Linked DNA regions of Homo sapiens: region 1 is linked to region 2. Evidence: promoter capture Hi-C in human tissues and cell types (Jung and others, 2019). All regions are on one chromosome and are shown on one strand. The core of a region is centred on a gene start or on the middle of the fragment in contact, and the rest is flanking DNA. Distances in the headings are between cores, read along the strand shown.

Region 1 (5,113 bases), core at 2,328-4,827, 810 kb before region 2:
AAGGGTGAAGTTACTTGTCCAAGGTGACCCAGCGTCTATGTAGCAGAGCAATGCACATGACCCCATGTGGCCTCTGAGGATACTAACACACAACAAATCAAACTAAAATAGGAAGGTTTTCTCCCATCATATATATTAGGTACCCAACAACAGAAAAGACTGGAGAAAAGCAAGGGAAAGAGTAACCACAAAACCATTTTAAGAAAAACCTTAAGGATACTCGTACCTTTGTCTTGAATCTCCAAGGCCTGGCACATCCCCAAGAGGACATGCAAAACCTGCAAAAGCACCTCTAAAATCTGTAACAGTCAAGGAAACAAGAAAAAAAAAACATAAACAAAATTAGGTAAATATCACGAAACTAAGTCAGAATTAGAAGGCACTTCAGACATTATCTTAACCAACCCCATATATGATACATCCCTCCACAACGACTGTGCCAAGTGGCCAACCAGCTGACTTTCCAGGGACAAAACCCTCACTCTCTGGGCTGGTTCCGAGTTCCTCCCAATACTGGGCCAATGTTGTCCTCCTGGGGCTTGTACCTACCAGCCCTTGGGGCTGCTTTTTCCTCTATTAACATATTCTGTAAACAGGTGATGGGTCCCCAAATCTTCTCTTTTCATGGGTAAACGCCCTAGCGCTTTTCAACCGTATTCTTCATGATCATAAATCCTTTGTAATGCTAATTGCCAGCTTCTGATTTTACGGTAGTCCAGTTTTCTGTCTGGAAGTGTAGTGCTCAGAATAAAATACATTAACATCTGGGATGCTGGAACTCACCCAGCATACTCACCAAACTCATCACAGATTCTACACTTCTATGTATGTGACATTAGCTTTTCTGCAGCCACTTCACACTGCTTATGTGAAGCTCATCTCAATGAGCTTATACATAATTTTTAAATTTTTTTTATTTGTTTGAGACGAAGTTTCGCTCTTGTTGCCCAGGCTGGAGTGCAGTGGCATGATCTTGGCTTACTGCAACCTCCACCTCCCAGGTTCAAGCGATTCTCCTGACTCAGTCTCCTGAGTAGCTAAGATTACAGGTGCATGCCACCATGCCTGGCTAATTTTTTGTATTTTTAGTACAGACAGGGTTTCACCATGTTAGCCGGGCTGGTCTCGAACTCCTGACCTCAGGTGATCCACCTGCCTTGGCCTCGCAAAGTGCTGAGATTATAGGCGTGAGCCACTGCGCCCAGTCCATAATTATTTAAGTTAAGAAATTTTTTTTTGTTCCTGGAAGGGTGGCTTATGCCTATAATCCCAGCACTTTTGTTTGTTTGTTTGTTTTGAGGCGCGGTTTCACTCTTGTTGCCCAGGCTGCAGTGCAATGGCATGTCTCGGCTCACCACAACCTCCGCCTCCTGGGTTCAAGCGATTCTCCTGCCTCAGCCTCCTTAGCAGCTGGGATTGCAGGCATGCACCACCACGCCTGGCTAATTTTTTATTTTTAGTAGAGACGGGGTTTCTCCATGTTGGTTAGTCTGGTCTCAAACTCCCAACCTCAGGTGATCGATCCACCCACCTCGGCCTCCCAAGGTACTGGGATTATAGGCATGAGCCACTGTGCCCAGCCAATCCCAGCACTTTGGGAGGCTGAAGCGGGTGGATCAGTTGAGCTCAGGAGTTCAGACCTGCCTGGGCAAAGTAGCAAAACCCTGTCTCTACAAAACATACAAAAATTAGCCAGGTGTGGTGGTGCGTGCCTGTGGTCAGGAGGCTGACGTGTGAGGGTCACTTGAGCCCAGGAGGCCGAGGATATAGTGAGCCAAGAACAGTGCAGGGGTTCAATGATAGCTCACTGTAGCCTCAAACTCCTGGACTCAAGCAATCCTCCTGCCTCAGCCTCCTAAGTAGCTGGGATTACAGGCATGTGTCACTATGCCCAGCTAATTTTTATTTTTATTTTTGTAGGGATAGGTTTTGCTATGCTGCCCAAGCTAGTCTCAAATTCCCGGGCTCAAGTGATCCTCCTGCCTCAGCCTCCCAGAATGTTGGGATTACAGGCGTGAGCCACCATCCATGACAATAAGCTTATAGATGAGGAAGATACCTAAGTCTTCTTTCGCACCTGCTTCTCCTGAACTATGTAATCTCTACTAACGTAGTTGGTATTTTTTATCTTTCATCTACCCCTACAAAAACTCATGGTATTAGCTTTAGCTCACTGTACAAATCTGTGATTCCCAGCTTTGTGCCTTCTCCAAATGAAATCAACTTGCTTTCCAGATCTTCATTCACAGCACTAGCTTGTTTTGCTCCAATGACAGGAGGGTCCTGCTAGGCCGATACCTCACTGATCACCCTTTGGGACAGTCCTTCAGGCAGTTCTGCAAACCCTCCAAACCATTTGGCCCTCAGCCCATATAACTGGTCCAGGATGTCAGGAAAGGTGCTTGTCCAAAGCATTTATGAAGATCCACTAGAATGCAGCAACTTCATTTCTCTCAACCATTCTTCTTAGAAAACCCAGGCAAAGAAAAAATGAAGTTGGTGTGACATGACTTGTTCATAACCAAGTCAAATCTCTTACATTTTCCTAATATTAAGTAATGCTGAATAATCTACAAAAGCTTGAAAAGCAATAGTTTTTCCATTTTATTTATTTATTTTGAGACCGAGTCTCACTCTGTTATCCAGGCTGGAGTGCAATGGCATGATCTCAGCTCACTGCAACCTCTGCCTCCCAGGTTCAAGTGATTCTCATGCCTCAGCCTCCCGAGTAGCTAGGATTACAGGCTCCTGCCACCACGCCCGGCTAATTTTTATATTTTTAGTAGAGATGGGGTTTCTTCATGTTGGCCAGGCTGGTCTCAAACTCCTGACCTCAGGTGATCCACCCGCCTCAGCATCCCAAAGTGCTAGGATTACAAGCCTGAGCCACCGCACCCAGCCACTTTTTCCATTTTATATGTTAAAGTCATGTTATCACCTTTGGTGTTGACCTCTTTATTCTGATAAATTTTATTCATAGAAAAAAGCCCTTAATGTCCAACTTTTTAATAAAAACACATTATTCTAACATATTTAAGTATTTCTTTAGCCAACCTACAAATAAATGAAGAATCTAAATTAGTCAAAATACATCACTAACTGGGAACATTTAGAATGCAGACAAGCAACTAGGCACTGTTTGGAAGAACCTAGGAACAGCAGCATACAAAAACTAACTTTCTAAGCGATAAATTTAAGAAAAAGTTGTATGATTACATTCTTTGTTTAAAGAACAGGAAAGTATGAAATACATGTTTGTAACATTTCTATCAAAATTAACAAAATCTAAAGAAAGTCTGTGCCCTTAAAGATAAAAGCTTCAGCTACCTAGAAGATTCTCTTCTAGCTGGGCACAGTGGCTCACACCTATAATCCCAGCACTCTGGGAGGTCGAGGCAGAAGGATCACTTGAGGCCCGGAGTTCAAGACCAGCCTGGGCAACATGGCGAAACCTTGTCTCTACAAAAAATACAAAACAAATTAGCTGGCATGATGGTGCACGCCTATAGTCTCAGCTACTTGGGAGTCTTAGGAGGGAGGCTGGCTTGAGGTGGACGGCAGAGGTTGCAGTGAGCCAAGATTGCACCACTGCACTCCAGCCTGGATGACAGAGCAAGACTGCCTCAAAAAAAGAAAAGAAAATGATCTTCTATGAATGACTTCAATCCCCAACAAAGAGCAAGAAAAATGAGCTGCCTCTGCCTTTTTCTGCCGCCTACCTTAAAGGACTTTCTGAAAAGCTGAAAGGGATAGTGCTGCTCATGTCTCTGCAGCCCCTGCCCTTCATTAGAAAAAAGAAAAAAAAAAAAAGAAAAGTTTAATAAGATAAGACTCGAGATCCTAAAGAGTAGTGAAAGACCTAAGCATGTCTTAGGTCTGCTGTCAACAGGATGAAATAGATAAATATCAACAAACAATTCAATCACATTTCACGTTTTTAAAATCTTTTCATCACTTTGGGACTCTATTCAATCTAATAGAAATGCATACCAAATCAACCAACACATGCTTACCTCATCCCTAAGTGAAGGATCCCTATAGGCCACATCAGACAGCAGAGTTACCAAGCAGAAGCTGAAGCTCTCTGCAACCGGGAGGGCACCTGGAAGATGTAAAAACATAAATCAGATAACCAGGAACCAGATACTGGGTCACACCTCTGGCCATCCAATTCAATATGTTCCCTCTCACCATGACCTGCCAAGGGACCAGTTTACAGCAGCTGCCCTCCTTGAGACGAGTCTCAAAAGAACAGCTATGGGCCCAATGAGTTTGCTGAGAAACACCCTTACCTTTCCTTTAAGTAAATGTTTTGGTTCAATAAACTTAAATGTTTCCTGAGCCAATAGCTAGTGTGAGATAACAAAGCCTCTCAACATGACAGATTCAATTTTTTATTCCCTAAGTAAATGTGATAAATCACACACACACACACACACACACACACACACACACACACACACACACAAAACACTCGGCTGGGCGAAGTGGCTCAAGTCTGTAATCCCAGCACTTTTGGGGGGCCAAGGCAGACGGATCACCTGAGGTCGAGTTCAAGACCAGCCTGGCCAACATGGTGAAACCCCGTCTCTACTAAAAATACAAAAATTAGCTGGGTGTGGTGGCGCACACCTGTAATCCCAGCCACTTGGGAGGCTGAGACAGGAGAATAGCTCGAAGCCAGGAAGTGGAGGTTCCAGTGAGCCGAGATCGCACCACTGTACTCCAGCCTGGGTGACAGAATGAGACGCCATCTCAAAAAAAAAAAAAAAAATCAATTTTGAATATTGAATGTTGAATCAAGGAAAAAAGAGTATCCACTATTTAATAGCTATATTCATAGTACATGACAGAAGACTTACATTTCTACTCCAGCACTTAAAATTTTAAAGTGCAGCTCTAGGCTGTTCTCAAACTTGAATGTGCCCATGCCCGGCCTAAAATTTGACCTTTTAGTAATGATGCTCTATTTAATTTGTAGTCCATCAAATTGCAGGACAGACTGGGTGCAGTGGCTCATGCCTATAGTCCTAGCACTTTAGGAGGCCAAAGCAGGCAGATCACTTGAGGCCAGGAGTTCAAGACCAGCCCAGCCAACATGGCAAAATACTAT
Region 2 (4,997 bases), core at 513-3,012:
ACATTCATAACTTCACTGTTTTCTCTTTGGTCCAGAAAAGCTTTCCTTACCCATGACTGTATAAATAGTCATTATGGTTGGCAGCCACAGTTTCCATTGCAATGTGACAGTCTTGATTTTTCCCATGGAAAGTGTGGTATTTGTGTCCGGGCTATGAAATTGGTAATGTCATTCCTGTTTCACAGATGAGGAAACTGGGGTTCAGAGAGCGAAAGTGTGGTCCTGCCAGGAGTAGTGGAGCTAAGACTGAACCTCACACCTCGGGGCCAGCACCCAGGCCTGCTATGTCCTCTCTGTCCCTGACCTAGTGGGTAGCCAGAGCTGAGAGGACAGAGCAGAGCTTGAGAGGAACAATATTTCGTGAGGCATGTGAGGATTGAAAGCCTCATAGAGTCCTTCAGCCATGCTCTTGGCATAAGGACTGATGTGTTTATAGTGACTGGTGAATTGTCAGACCTCAACCAACCACCGTTCTCCACTGGAAGCTGATCTTGGAAAGGTCAGAGGTCCCGAGGGTCTGCAGGTGGGAAGGAGGAGACTGACATTTATTGAGCACCTACTTGGTGCCAGACACTGAAAGTATTAGAGATTAAGGGTGACTTGCCTCTGTTCTGGCCCCAAAGAAGCACCATCTGATAGAAAAATAAGTAGCAACATGGTATGGTAGAGTCTGGAATGGGGTTTACTGTGAATTGCGTAGGGCGTGGCAGAATTCACAGTAAAAGGTTTTTGGAAGAAGTGACACCATGGTGGGGTATTACTGAGCAAAGGGGAAAAGGAGGGAGGGAGAGGAGGTAAGAATATACAAGGCTCCGCTGGGCGCGGTGGCTCAGGTCTGTAATCCCAGCACTTTGGGAGGCCAAGGCAGGCGGATCACAAGATCAGGGAATCGAGACCATCCTAGCTAACACGGTGAAACCCCATCTCTACTAAAACTACAAAAAAATTAGCCGGGCGTGGTGGCGGGCCCCTGTAATCCCAGCTGCTCGGGAGGCTGAGGCAGGAGAATGGCGTGAACACGGGAGGCGGAGCTTGCAGTCAGCCGAGATTGCGCCACTGCACTCCAGCCTGGGCGACTGAGCGAGACTCCCGTCTCCAAATAAATAAATTAATTAATTAAAGAATACACAAGGCTCCACTGGGTTACTGGGTGTGCTGTAGGGAGATTTTATTGAATCCCATACTCCCATATTGGAAGAACACTCAAGCCCATTTACAGTGTGGGACTAATGCTGAGAGGTTGAGTCACATTGGCAGGAAAGAGCAGAGCCAGGAACTGAAGCTAGGTCTGTGACTTAGAGCCGGCACTCTTTCCACTGCAGAGGGGAGAGGTCTCAAGGCAGAACCTGGGGCTGTGCACACCGCGGGAAGGGCAGAGGCCCCTGGAAACGAACAGGAGCAGGAGGCCCAGGGCTGCGCAGCAACCAAGGAGGACACGAGGAAGGTGCTTGTGCCACCGGTGGAAGACGTGGCTTTGGCTTTTAGGCTCCCCTCGGGGCAGGAGCAGATCAAAGAGCCTAGCCCCAGCTTCGGTGGTGGGTGGGGGGTCCTCCCGGCAGCGGGGAGCGTGGGCACCAGCATCCTCAGCCTGCGGCTCCCAGGCGAGTGTGGGAGGGCAGAGCCCAGAGAATTGGAGGTGGGGCCAATGTGGGCCCCGCCCCCAACCATTGTGTCGGAGAGGGAAGTGGACGAGCTCCTCGGTAAGAACCAATGAGGATGTGGTATGCAAATAAGCAAGTGGAGGCCGCCAGCCGACTTCCTCGCACTGTGCAGCTGCTCCAGTGAGGGCGCAGACTGTACTGGCCTGTGCGGAGCAAGGCGGTGTTTCTGGTGAGTCTGTTGATTCTGGGCTGGGGTGAAAGCCAGGTTGCCCAGGGTTTGGGAGGAGGGCGGGTCGAGCACACGCAGATCCAAAGATGATCGGAGACAGGATTGTCCTCAGCGATTCCACCCCGATGACTCTGGAAACTGCCTGCCTGCAGACGCATGGGGGCCATGGAGCAGAGGAAGGGCTGGATGCATGAAGGAGGCGGGGTGCGGGGAGCGAGGGACCCGCAGACTCCAGGGCCACAGATGCGTGGACCTATTGGAGACCCTCAGGTTGTCTCCCCACCCCACGCAGAGAGGAATGCGCAGCTGAAGAGAGAGGTGGGCAGCAGGCCCGGTCACCTGCCAGGTGACCACATGGCCAGGTGCCGCCACCACTCGGGTTACCTGGCCGATGACGAGGCCAGCCACTCCATGTGCAGTGCACGGGTAAGTGTGCCCAGCAGGGCGCCGACCCTTGAGGCCACAACATGTTCCCCACCAACCCTGGCACCCAAGACCACAACCCCCATTTCTCATTGTCTATTGACTTCTCTGGGCCTCTTAGTGAAGTCCTTATTGCCTTGACTTCTCCTATGTCCCCCACTGCTTGCCCCTGTCACACTCAATTTCATTCCTTGTTTCCTCCTGACTTCCAGCGACCCAGAAGGTGCTTGGGTGGACTGGGACCCTAGAGTGGGAGCATGGAGTTGACTAGGTGCCTATGGCTCAAGTTGGAGAAACAGGCCCGGGTAGCACAGGGCTCAAGACCTCAGGTGTTGTCTGCACTCAAGACCTCAGATGTTGTTTGCAGCCCTGCCATGGATACAGGGATGGCCTGCTGCATGGACAGATGAGGAGCTGGAGGGAGACTCCGAGAGATTCATGATTGCTCATCCTGCCACGTGTCAGGGCAGAAGCAGGCTTGCAGACTCCTTAGCCAGGACTTGTGTGTGTGAAATGTAGGTGTTAGGAAAGCTTCGGGGTGACCCTGAATAGACCTCCACTTTGCAGATGAGGACATTGGACCTCAAGAGGGGCCATCTTGCACACTGGCATCAGGCTGTAGGTGGCAGAGCCAGGGTCCAAACCCAGGGCTTCCAGACTCCAAAATGCAGCTCCTTCCACTACTCACTCCCACCCAGGTCCTAGTGTTACCCCAGGGAACCCTTCACCTGTAGGGCACCCCTGCCCCCTGTGACATACCTGTCTGCTCAGGTGCAGCTGCCCAAGAAGCCACTGGTCCCAGAAATGCGGCCAGCCTGCAAGCCGGGCCGTGTGCCACACCCACCATCCACATGTGGCAGCTCAGCACTCCAGGGCCAACGCCGAAACAAGAGGCACCCTCAGCCCTTTGGCCACTTTCTGGATTTCCTAACTGAGAGCCAGGTCCTGGACAGCCTGGAGACAGTGGTGGAGAAGGCGACTGAGCGCATGGCTGCCATGAAGACGGAGGCTGGGGTGCCGCTTGTGGAGGTGCAGGACCCAGTGGAGGTGCCAAGTGGTGGACGGCGGGCACATGCCCGGCCCAGCCTCAGCACCGTACACCGGCACCGTGTACGGCCGACCCTCTGCACTGGACACCCCAACAACTACCCATCCAGCTCCAGCTCCATGTCCAACTGCCATAGCAGCCTCATGGCCGGCTGTCTGGGCTCCCACAGCCGGGACAGTGACCTAGGTGCCCAAGGCTCATTGCCACCTGTGAGGGACAAACTCCTGCTGGAGAAGAACCTCAAGCGGCTGCTACAGCTGGAGAGGGAAGGGGTGAGAGCCAGGGCCATGGCTGGGTGGGGTGGACTCCCATGGAGAGCCCAGGGCTAGGGTCAGCCCTGGCTTGGCTGCTCCTGAACACTTCACAGAGTCACCCTCTTTCTGCAGAAAGGCCTCAGTCAGTCCTGCTCCCAGAGGGACTCCCTGCTGTGGGATTCGCTGGGTAGCCAGACCAGCTTTCAGTGGACACAGGAGCAGCCCTTGTCCTGGTTCTCAGGGCTGCTGGGCTCAAGCTCTGGCGTGCCTGAAGCATCAGAGCCGAGGCCTGGAGAACAGGAGCCAATCTTCCGCAAGCGAGAGTTCAATAAGGAGATCAAGTCATTACTGAGCCAGCTGGAGTCCCTCGACCTGCCTGGCTACTGTCCGCTCCGTGAGCCCCATCGCACGCTGAACTTCCTGGCTGACCACCGCCTCTTCCCTGCCCTGCAAAGCGTGGTCAGCCAGGCTGTGGATAAGCTCCGTGGCGCCCACTGCCGCGACGGCCGTCCTCTGTTCCCCACCAGCTTGGAGCCCACCTCAGATCTGCCGCCTCTGGGCTCTGAGCCAGCTAAACCCACCAATGGCGGGCAGCCCTATGCTTCCCCCCGCCCCACAGTCTCCAGCCCCAAGATGCTTCAGAGAAAACGCAAGGACAGAGGAGGCTCCCCCTCCATGTCTAGTGCCCAGGTGGCCACCAGATTCAAACTCAAGGTGACACCCACGGAGAAGCCCAATGTCCCCAGCCCCTCACTCCACTCCAGGGAGGAGGCACCTGACTCAGATCCCAAATTACAAAACCCACCTGTTTCCCTGAGCTCCAGCCAGAGGGCCCAGCCCTGGCAGGGCCTGCACCTCACCCTGCCCACGCCAGGGATTGTGGTGGAGGTGGCCTGCAGCCAGGGCCACCTCAGGGGCCCTGTCACACCTCCACTTTCCTCCCCCTACCCCCGCTCTTCCTGCTACCTTCTCCCTGAGCTCTCTCCAGTTGCCTCTTCATCTCCCGCCTCACTGTGTCCAGAGGTGACCTCCTCAAAAGTAGGACCGGGCATGAGTTTGCAGGAGAAGGGCTCCTTGACCCACCACTCCTAGCAGCCACTGTCACTAACAGGTGCTCAAGGTCAAGGTCTCTTGCCCTGCACTGTGGAAACCTCCTGGGCAGGGGTCAAGCTGATGGGGGCCCATGAATCCTGGCCTAGCTATTACCAGGTGTTGTCACAGATAAATAAAGGCTATTTTTTATGCTGGGTATTTTTTCTAACGTTTGTATGTGAATCTAGAGACGCTCCTACATGGGGGTGGAAAGTCCCGTCCCTTGTGGACAGCAGCCCAAGCCCAGCCGGGGCCTTGCCTCCTAGGTCTAGCTCCCTTGAATCCAGCTGCCTCGAGCAGGACTCTCCAGTCCCTGGACTTTGCTGAGGGGAAGTTGCCCAGGGAGGATG

What was found. The method cuts DNA at HindIII sites, captures the fragments that hold promoters and counts their contacts. A contact is called where the count stands out against the background at its distance.
Region 1: a fragment that was not itself captured here is called in contact with the fragment with the promoter of CCDC116 in region 2 in 1 of the 25 tissues and cell types used here (dorsolateral prefrontal cortex).

The regions. Positions count from the first base shown.
Region 1 is chr22:20,820,313-20,825,425 of GRCh38, forward strand. PI4KA (phosphatidylinositol 4-kinase alpha) reads right to left here. Exons shown (of 55, transcript NM_058004.4): 4 at 4,014-4,102; 5 at 227-299. Among named protein-coding and RNA genes, the nearest start is that of PI4KA, 36 kb to the right of the region's middle. The HindIII fragment of the contact is 7,070 bases long and covers 43-5,113 here.
Region 2 is chr22:21,630,998-21,635,994 of GRCh38, forward strand. It overlaps CCDC116 (coiled-coil domain containing 116), which reads left to right and starts at 1,763. Exons shown (of 5, transcript NM_152612.3): 1 at 1,763-1,830; 2 at 2,123-2,256; 3 at 3,025-3,573; 4 at 3,688-4,269. The coding sequence starts at 2,185. RefSeq lists an enhancer at 1,495-1,994. The HindIII fragment of the contact is 5,816 bases long and covers 1,413-4,997 here.